2 separate regions of the Homo sapiens genome follow, and region 2 is linked to region 1. Evidence: promoter capture Hi-C in 16 types of primary human blood cells and fetal thymus (Javierre and others, 2016). All regions are on one chromosome and are shown on one strand. Each heading gives the region's core, a stretch centred on a gene start or on the middle of the fragment in contact. The rest is flanking DNA. Distances are from core to core; before and after follow the strand shown. Region 1 holds the start of CD200R1L-AS1 (CD200R1L antisense RNA 1). Region 2 has its middle 62 kb from the start of CD200R1L.

Region 1 (4,656 bases), core at 568-3,067:
CATAAAATTCACTGGAGGAATATCTGAGAAGAAGGAAACTTCTTCACCCAAAGAGGAAGACAGGGTGACCTAAGAAATGGGTCTCGTAACTAAGTTTCTGCTGCAGAGTCAGGAAAGTGTGTGTGCAGATAGGAGAACTGCAGTCTCAGAGGGAACAAAGGAACATTTTTATAAATTAGACCAAAGCTATCATGTATAGTTGAGAGGTCCATACAGCTATTCTACATTCCTGCTGAAGGGCCTGAAGAAAATTGGTAGGGATTTTTCACTGGCTTGAGACTGACTGAAGGGAAAGTGTGCTCCCCTTCAACTTCACCTTACTCCTATTACCTTTTTTGGGACCTCCAGTTCTTCAATCTGGTACTCTTTGAGCATGAAGAACGAGCATTGAGGAATGATATTATGTACTCCTGGAGGGCAGGAGGTTGGCCTTCTTATCTGGTATGTTTCTTAACAGCATGACATATTGGATGAACAAAAATTACGTTTAAAATAAATATGTTGAACAGACAACTAAAGTCTCTTCTAAAAATAAAATTGGCTTCAGGTTCTATAGTTCTACCTCTGTGGTCTCATTGCACAAACATATGTTTTAGATCTTAGGCTATTAAAGACATCTGTCCTGACCTATTATTTATAACCAATGGAAATGAAAAATGCAACCCAAAAGCTTAAAGAATTTGCCTGAGGACTATAAATGGAGCACATGCAAGCTGTTAGATGGCCAAGTTGAGGACCCAGAAATAAGCACCAATTATTCAATCAGACGATGTGGTTCATGACCCCATAGGGGACTCTTTCCTTCCTGCTGTGTAACTCAAAGGATCTGAGACTGTGGGCCCAGACTAAGTCAGAACTTCAAGTGTTGTTTTCTTCTTGTTTTCATTCTGGCTCAAAATCCAGAGGATGTTGAAGCATGGGCAGCCTCCTATCTCTCTCTTTCCAGGAGTAGCTACAACTCTTTTGAAGTTTGTGATGCAGGTTAAACTGTTCTGTTCCTTTGCCTAGGCAAAGAAAAGTACTATCAGGTGAAATGAGATAGCTGTTGAAATTCAGTATTCACATGTTTCCTAGCTCAGAATGCTGAAAAATAAAGTATGAAAGATTCCAATCAAAGGAAGAGATTGAATCACCTTCTGTTCCAGATGGGGCCTCACAATAGTTACAACTGCTTGTTCTGGACACATTTGTCCATCCTCGCTTACAGATGCAGCACCATCCATGAAATGCTTGAGACATCCAGGAGGTGGGCAGTGGATAAACAGAATATATTCATTATTGTAACTGAGAATGCTTTTATTCCCCCTGTCTCTCCCACAGAGTTGGTATAAACATATAAAAGACTCTTGAGTTTGAACTCGTATGTGCCCAGTCTCAACTTTAACAATTTATTTCCCTTTATTTCATAATTAAAAAACTGAAAAAAACTAAAGGTCTGACAATGGTTCTAAATTTTTTTCCTCTTTCAGGACAGTGATAGGGAAAAAAACCCACTAGAATTTGTTAATGAAATACTGCCATTATAGAAACCTAACTGACCAAAAACCAGAAGATCTGTGTTCTAATGCTAGGTTTTAGGTACTTAGCTTTCCCACACCTTAATTTACTCATCTGTAAAAGGAGGAGTTTAGATTAGATAATCTTACCTAAGTTACTTCTCCTCTAAGATCCTATGTTTCTGTGGCATCTGGGTATAACTGCAGAACTTTAGAAGAAAAGTCTGGACCCAAAGGTAGGGGTTTTAGATCTGACTTTGTACATTTTGTGGTTTTATTTCCTCATTTCTAAGAAATGGAGATTAGTGTCTATCATTTGGTGACAAGTGTAATGTGAGATTAGATATTTCCTTGTGTAAGTAATTTGCAAGTAAAATGGTCTATACAGATGGAAAAAAGTCCCCTTCCCAAGATATTAAAGCATATTAAAAAGCTAGAGTAATTAAGCAAATGTGGCATCTATGCAGGAAAATGCAAATAGATTCAAAGAATAAAGTCTAGAGAAGACTTATGTATATATTGACAGGTAGTTTATTGAAGAAAAATACACATAAGCAATACACTCATGAAAAGGTAATATATATTTCTACTAATCTAATAAATACAAATAAAAGCCACAATAAGATAACATTTTGTTCTCATTAAGCAAAAATGAAATATTTGCTATCAAATCTTGGTGAAAGTACAGGGAAATGGGTTCCATGATGCACTGCTGATGAGGGAATAAACTGGGACAGGCATGTGGAAAGGTAATTTGTTAGGGTTATAGCTTTTAATGTGTATATCCTAAGATCAGTAATTACTTTTTTCATATCTACACATGTACCTAAGAAGGTATGAACAAATATATTCATTGCAACAGTATCTATAAGAGCAAAATATTTGAAATGACTCACTTGTAACTCAGTAGGAAGGTGGTTAAACAAAAGGTAGCACATTCCAGCCTGACCAACATGATGAAACCCATCTCTACTAAAAATACAAAAATTAGCCAGGCTGTGGTGGCATGGTGTCTATAATCCTAGCTACTGGGGAGGCTAAAGCAGAAGAACTGCTTGAACTCAGGAGGCGGAGGTTGCAGTGAGCCTAGGTCGCGCCACTGCACTCCAGCCTGGGTGACAGAGGGAGACCTTGTCTTAAAAAAAAAAAAAAAAAAAAGTAGCACATTCATGCTACAGAGTGGTATACAACAGTTACAAAGAATGAGGTGGCTATCTGCAAACTGGCATGGAATTCCCCCTTAATACACACTGTAGAGTAAAAAGCTAGTCATAGAATAATTTGTATTATTTATGTACAAATACACACTTGTGAAACTATATAGCTCTATAGCACACATATGTGCTAAGAAATTCAGAGAAAAGAGTTCTGGAAGGATGCACAGTGAACTGGTAATAGTAGTCACCTTTAAGAAGGGGAGTAGTGATTAAGGAGACATAAACTTTATCCATAGAACTTATTTTTTTAGTGAGATTGTATTCATGTATAACATAAACATTAAAGAAATTTTTTTTGTTTGTTTTTTAAAGGGAGATAAGACAATAAAGTTGGCTATTTCCCATTCAGCCAAACTAAAATCTAACAAGAATTATTTTCCTCCAAGCCACATTATGTAAATTTCCATGCATACCCCATGTGCTAGAATACCACGCAACTCACTGAGTGTGAACCCTTCAAGAACTCAGGCTATTACAGGCCTTATCTTTTGATTTACCCAACAATGCAGCCAAGTGGCTATAACATTTGATTTCTAGAGTATTCAGAAACTGTTACTCAGATTCTGAGTAAAGGTAGTTCTGGGATTTAAACTATTATGGAATTGTTTCATCTGATTGAACTTGCAAGCATAAAGTCACAGAAGACAGTGGTGTTTCTCCAGAGAAATAATTATCCTAATCATTACTGTTACTAGTGTACTGTTGTGGAGTTGCTGTTTGCCTTTACATATAAAGTGCTCTCTTAGAGAAGACTAGAATTCCAAAGCCCAGCTAGAATTCTTCCACTGAATTTTTAAAAGACTATCTATTCCATCAGAAGTTAGTAATTTGAGAAAACACAAATACATGCTTAACAATGGTAATTACTTTTAGAGACAGAAAGCATGCAGAATGTGAAGGTTGGGGATACACAAAGATGAAATTTGTTAGCCTTCAACAATCCTAGAAAGTAGAGAGAGAAGATACTATGATGCCCCATTTTGTACATTAGGAAAATAAGACTCATTATGTCACATTGCAAGAATTCTATCAAAACATCTCATGTATCTCATAAATATATACAGCTACTATGTACCTACAAAAAAAATAAATAAATAAGACTCAGAAAAGGTGAGAAATTTGTTCAGAGCCACCCAGCCAGTAGCAAGTTCAATTTCGTTTTTTCCTTGGCTGAAAATCTAAAACTTTTTTCTCTTCCATTATGTCCCCTACCATCTTGAAATTTGGATATAAAATTTGAAGACACATGTCCAAGTTGATCTACTGTCAGCTGATATTTTACCTAATATCTTTGAGTGCTTCCTAGGCATCTGGCTCCATTCCAGAGTCATTCATAATATTCCCTTAAATCTTATCAGAACTCTGTGAGTTACAGTATTATAATCCCTGCTTCACAAATGAAGAAAGGGAGGCCTAGAAACTAAACAGTTTACTCATGCCACCTCACCAGGAAGTAGTGGAGTAAATATGCAAACCTACAACTTCTGGCTCAACTAAGTGCTTTTCCTTCTAACATTGGTATTTTAATATTCTCAAGGAAGAGCTCTCATCAGCAGACAATACAAACCTTGAATAAGGTTTACCCCCAAATAGACACATGCCCTTCAGTCTAGGTTAACTGCATTTTGTAGGACACTTGTCAAGCGAATCAGTGTAGCTTGGAGTGTTTTTATATGTGGCTGGGAGCCATCTGGTCATATTAGAAAAACAAACCATTTCTAAATAATGTCATGTGTGAGCCAACAAGAGATCCATTCTTTCGCTTCTTCTCAGGGGGCCTCCTAACCTCCTCTACTGGAATGAGTGTTAAGGCTCTCCTTATACTGACCCAGAGTAATTTGTTTTAGTAATGTCTGAGCACTCTGAGGTAATGGTCTTAATGACCTCCACTAGTGCTTTTAAGGGAGTAAGAACCATGAATAAGTAGAACATTTTAATATTTT
Region 2 (4,656 bases), core at 691-3,190, 110 kb before region 1:
TGTTGGCATAAAATTGTTTGCAGTAGTCTCCTGTAACCTTTTTATTTCTGTGGCAACAGTTGGAATGTTTCCCCTTTAATTTCTGATTTTATTTATTTATTTGTCTTTTCTCCTTTTTTTCTTAGTCTAGCTAAAGGTTTGTCAATTTTGTCTTTCAAAAAGCCAACCTGAGTTTCATTGATGTTTTTCTATTGTTATTTTATTCTCTATCTTGTTTCCTTCTGCTGTAATCTGTATTATTTCCTTCTTCTGATAACTGTGGGTTTAATTTGTTTTTATTATTCTAGTTCCTTGTGGTATAGAGTTAGGTTTTTTATTTGTGGTTTTTCTTCTTTTTAATGTAGGCATTCATTGCTATAAACTTCCCTTTTACCACTATTTTTGCTGTATCTCAGGAGTTTTGGTATGCTGTACTTTCATTGTTGTTTGTGTCAGGTGTTTTTTATATCCCCTTTTGATTTTTTTTTGACCCACTTGTTTGAAAATGCATTATTTAATTTCCACATATTTATGAATTTTCATCAACATACAAAAATCAGTTGCATTTCTATATACTAATAAACTATCTGTAAAGGAAATGAGGAAAACAATCCTATTTACATTAGCATCAAAAAATACTTGTGAATAAGCTTAACTAAGCAAGTGAAATACTTGTTCACTGAAAATTACAAAACATTGATGAAAGAAATTAATGAAGACACAAACAAATGGAAAGACATTCTGTGTTCATGGATTGGAAGGCTTAATATTGTTACAATGTTTATACTACCTGTTATGGTTTTCATGTTTGTGTTCCCTCCAAAATTCTTGTTGAAACTTAATGCTCAATGCAACAGCATTAAGAGGGGGGCCCCTCAGAAGTGATTAAGCTATAAAGGCTTCACCCTCATGAATGAACTACTGACTTAATAAAGAGGCAGACAGGGACCCCCTTTGTCCCTTCTGTCATGTGAAGACACAACATACTTACTCTGCAGAGGATTTAGCAAGAAGGCATCGTCTTTGAAGCAAATAGTAGCACTCATAAGACACTGAGTCTACTGGTGCCTTGATCTTGAAGTTCTCAGCCTTCAGAGCTGTGAGAAATAAATTTCTTTTGTTTGCAAATTACTCAGTCTGTGGTATTTTGTCATAGCAGCAAAATAGGCTAAGACACTACAAAGATCTACAGATTCAATTCAATTCTTATCAAAATTCCATGACATTTTTACAGAAATAGAAAATCAATTATAAAATTCATATGAAACCATAAAAGACCTTAAACAGCCAAGAATAAACTTGGAGGCATTACACTTCCTTATATCAAAATATACTACCAGGCTACAGTAATTAAAACAGTATGCTACTGGCATAAAGACATCTATAGACCAGCATAACAGAATAGAGATCCCAGAAATAAATTCATGCATATATAGTCAACTGATCTTCAACTAGGATTCCAAAAATACACAATGGGGACAGAACAGTCTCTTTGACAATTGATATTGGGGAAACTGAATAACCCTAGGCAAAAGAATAAAATTGGGCCCTATCTTATGGCCTACACAAAAATCAACTCAAAATAGAGGGTGGGCAAGAAATAGAGGATAGAATTTCTTTGTTATTTCACTAAAAATCCCAAATTCACCTTCAAATGTGTTGAGGAATTATCTATCTGGAGACAAGAATCTGATCCTGGTGATAACTCTGTAGTATAGAAAGTTAACAAATGTGCACAATTATATCCATCTTTTTCATACAAAGTTATCACTAACCATTCTTTTTGTCTAGCCAAACTGAAACCAGTATGAACCACTGGAAGTGGGTGGGGAGAACGCACAGGAAAATCCAAGGGCAGGATTATTGTGTGGTCAGGAAGATGTAAGGAGAATTTATGGGCAGAAACTTCAGCCTACTGGTCAGCACTCTTTATCTTTACCTTTGCAACCCATGTAGCAACCCTGAGTTTGCAGAAGGAAAGAGCATATCCTAAATTGCTTTAGCCAAAAAAAACAAACTGAACAGAGATGAAAAGAGATATTAAGTAAATATTATGAAGTAGAAGAGGCTAATACAATAATTTAGGTGAAGAATTATTTGTATTATGATCTTTTTGAGCATGTTACTTTTAAATACTTTCTGCCTCAGTGATTTCTATGTTAAAGTGCATATCCCTGGAAGGAGAGATTGTGTGTAACTCCTCTCATAAGCCACACAACAAAATACCAAAAAATATACATAGACACACATACAAAATGCAGTAGAAGATAAGGAAAATTACTTATGAAAAGGTCTTTCTTTCTATGCTGGTTATTCTTCTACCGTATCATTAATTGACTTAGGATAAGTTTCTTAACCTTTTCGAATCTCTACTTCCTTATCTATAAAAATAAATATAACTATACATGCCTCATAAGAATCATTCTGACAGTATCTGGGACATAGCTCAATCAATTACAATTGGATCTGAATCCTGGGTCAAATATACATGCTTCTCTTGAAATAAGTAAATGTATAAAAGCACAAACCAGAAAATTCAGTCATTATCACCTCAACTGTGCAAACAGGAAATGCTTCTATTTAAGTTGCTCATGAGCCAAAAATACAACCATCTAAGAGAGCAGGGGATTTCTCACCAGTGCTAATGGAGCAGAGCAAGAGAAGTAAAATACCATAACTAGGCCTATTATACAGTGGAAGAAAACATAGAGGCAAAGATAAGAAAAAAAAAATAGAAATAACTCCCTTTGGAAGATGGCTTCAGCTTTTGGGATACTGTTCACATTTTTTTTCATAGCTGGTGAGTCTGTTGGCCAAGTTGCGGGGATGCTGAGGGGTATTGGGCGAAGTAGAGAGGAAACCATAATTAGAAAAATACATTAGAATATTTTTCCACTAGAGCTTTTCCACTAGTCCTTTAAAATGCTCAGTTTAAAATAGCTCAAAGAGTGAAAATGCTACTTTATTTTAATCACTATGTTTTAAAAAAGAAAGATAATGTCTTAATTACTTATATTTCTGCCAAAATTATCTTTGAAAAAACATTTCTTAATAAAAAAATAAAAAAATGCCACAGGATTTTAAATAAAAATGGAGATTTCTAGTTTGACATGGTGAATTGAATAGATGTATCGTGTCTATTCTCTCCTGAATGGCTATTAATATGACAATAATAATATTTAAAACATATAGGCCTAAAGGAATCAAAATGTCAGGAGAGAAGACACAGGGGGTTAGGAAACATTAACGTATTTTGGAGGATGGAAAGCTTGATCACCCAGGAGAATAGAGGAAGCTGAACGTGTTTCTTCAGGAGGAAACAGAACCAAGCTGCAAAGGCTCAAGAATTGGGTTTTGCAGAAAGTGAGTGCAAAGCCCAGGTCTGGAATTAAGAGAATTGTTTGAAATTCTGTGTAAGAGGTGGTTAGACCCTGAAAAGTCTCAACATTCCCTTCCAAATTCTCAGATTTTAGATTTATTCCCTATAGAACATGAATCACAAAGAATTTAGTCTTACAGACAATGGGAACAGAAAGATTCAAGAGGAGATATGGGGCTGAAAATAGGTGGATTAAGTGGAATCTATATATTTACCAGAGAAATACACCCCCAATCCCTGCCAGCCCTCATTCCCTGTCCAGGTCCCCAAATACCCCAGATAGGCACACATACCTCTTGGGACAAGATTTTGAGCAACTTTCAAGGCAGAAACTGAATGACCCTTGCGAATATGCTACAGATTCAAAGAAAATTTCAGGCATGTAAACTCTCAAATAAGGAGAAAACCAGTAAAGAAGCTAGGATTCTGGAAACATGGGCTTCAATAGAGAAGACAGCTGAGGAGATTTCCCAGGTAAATATCAAAAGAAAGTGCCAGAATAAGAAATCATAAAATGGAAATAGGAAGCAACCAGTCAGGATTGGAGCAGGAGAGTAAAGATTTCTGGAAATAAATTTAAAGTGGAACTCAGACCAACTTAGTTGGTCACAGATGACTTTTTATTATTCCCCTGAATATCATTTTCTTCCACTATGCCTCTTCATAATCAGCTTGTTATATCAGTTCAAATGCAACATTGCTATGCCTCTGTTAGTATCATCTCTTCATAAATCCTTCAATTTCTCCAAAATTACATTTCTCAGGAAATTCACTTTAGTTGTCATAAATTCTGTACATAGTTCCATTTGTGGAGAACGCAGTGACTGTAGCAAAGCTGTCAGAGTAAAAACAAGACCATGATTAGCTTACTAATTCTTGTACCTGTAACTCCCAGAATTTTATAGTGAATTTCTTTTAAAATCCTCCACTTGAATACCTGCCTTCATCTCTGAACTTGTCTGCATCTAGTACAGGAAGCAAAGAAAGGAGAAAGGATAGATAACATTGTGTTAATTAAGATGTATCATATTGGGCTGGGTACATTGGCTCACATCTGTAATCTCAACATTTTGGAAGGCCAGGACCAATGGATTGCTTGAGGCCAGGTGTTTGAGACCAGCCTGGGCAACATAACAAGACCCCATCTTTATAAAAAATAAAAATAAAAGAATTAAAATAAAAAAATAAAAATAAAAGAATTAGCTGAGCATAATGGCTACCATACCTGTAGCCTAGTTACTTGGGAGGCTGAGGTGAGAGGATTGCTTGAAACCAGGAGTTGAAGGTTACATGAGCTA

The links. The method cuts DNA at HindIII sites, captures the fragments that hold promoters and counts their contacts. A CHiCAGO score of 5 or more calls a contact.
Region 2: a fragment that was not itself captured here is called in contact with the fragment with the promoter of CD200R1L-AS1 in region 1 in 2 of 17 cell types (naive B cells and M2 macrophages); the score reaches 5.3 in naive B cells.

What each region holds. Positions count from the first base shown.
Region 1 is chr3:112,799,639-112,804,294 of GRCh38, reverse strand. CD200R1L-AS1 (CD200R1L antisense RNA 1) reads right to left here and starts at 1,817. Exons shown (of 3, transcript NR_149027.1): 1 at 1,647-1,817. The HindIII fragment of the contact is 7,448 bases long and covers 673-4,656 here.
Region 2 is chr3:112,906,364-112,911,019 of GRCh38, reverse strand. No RefSeq gene overlaps it. Among named protein-coding and RNA genes, the nearest start is that of CD200R1L, 62 kb to the right of the region's middle. The HindIII fragment of the contact is 2,618 bases long and covers 632-3,249 here.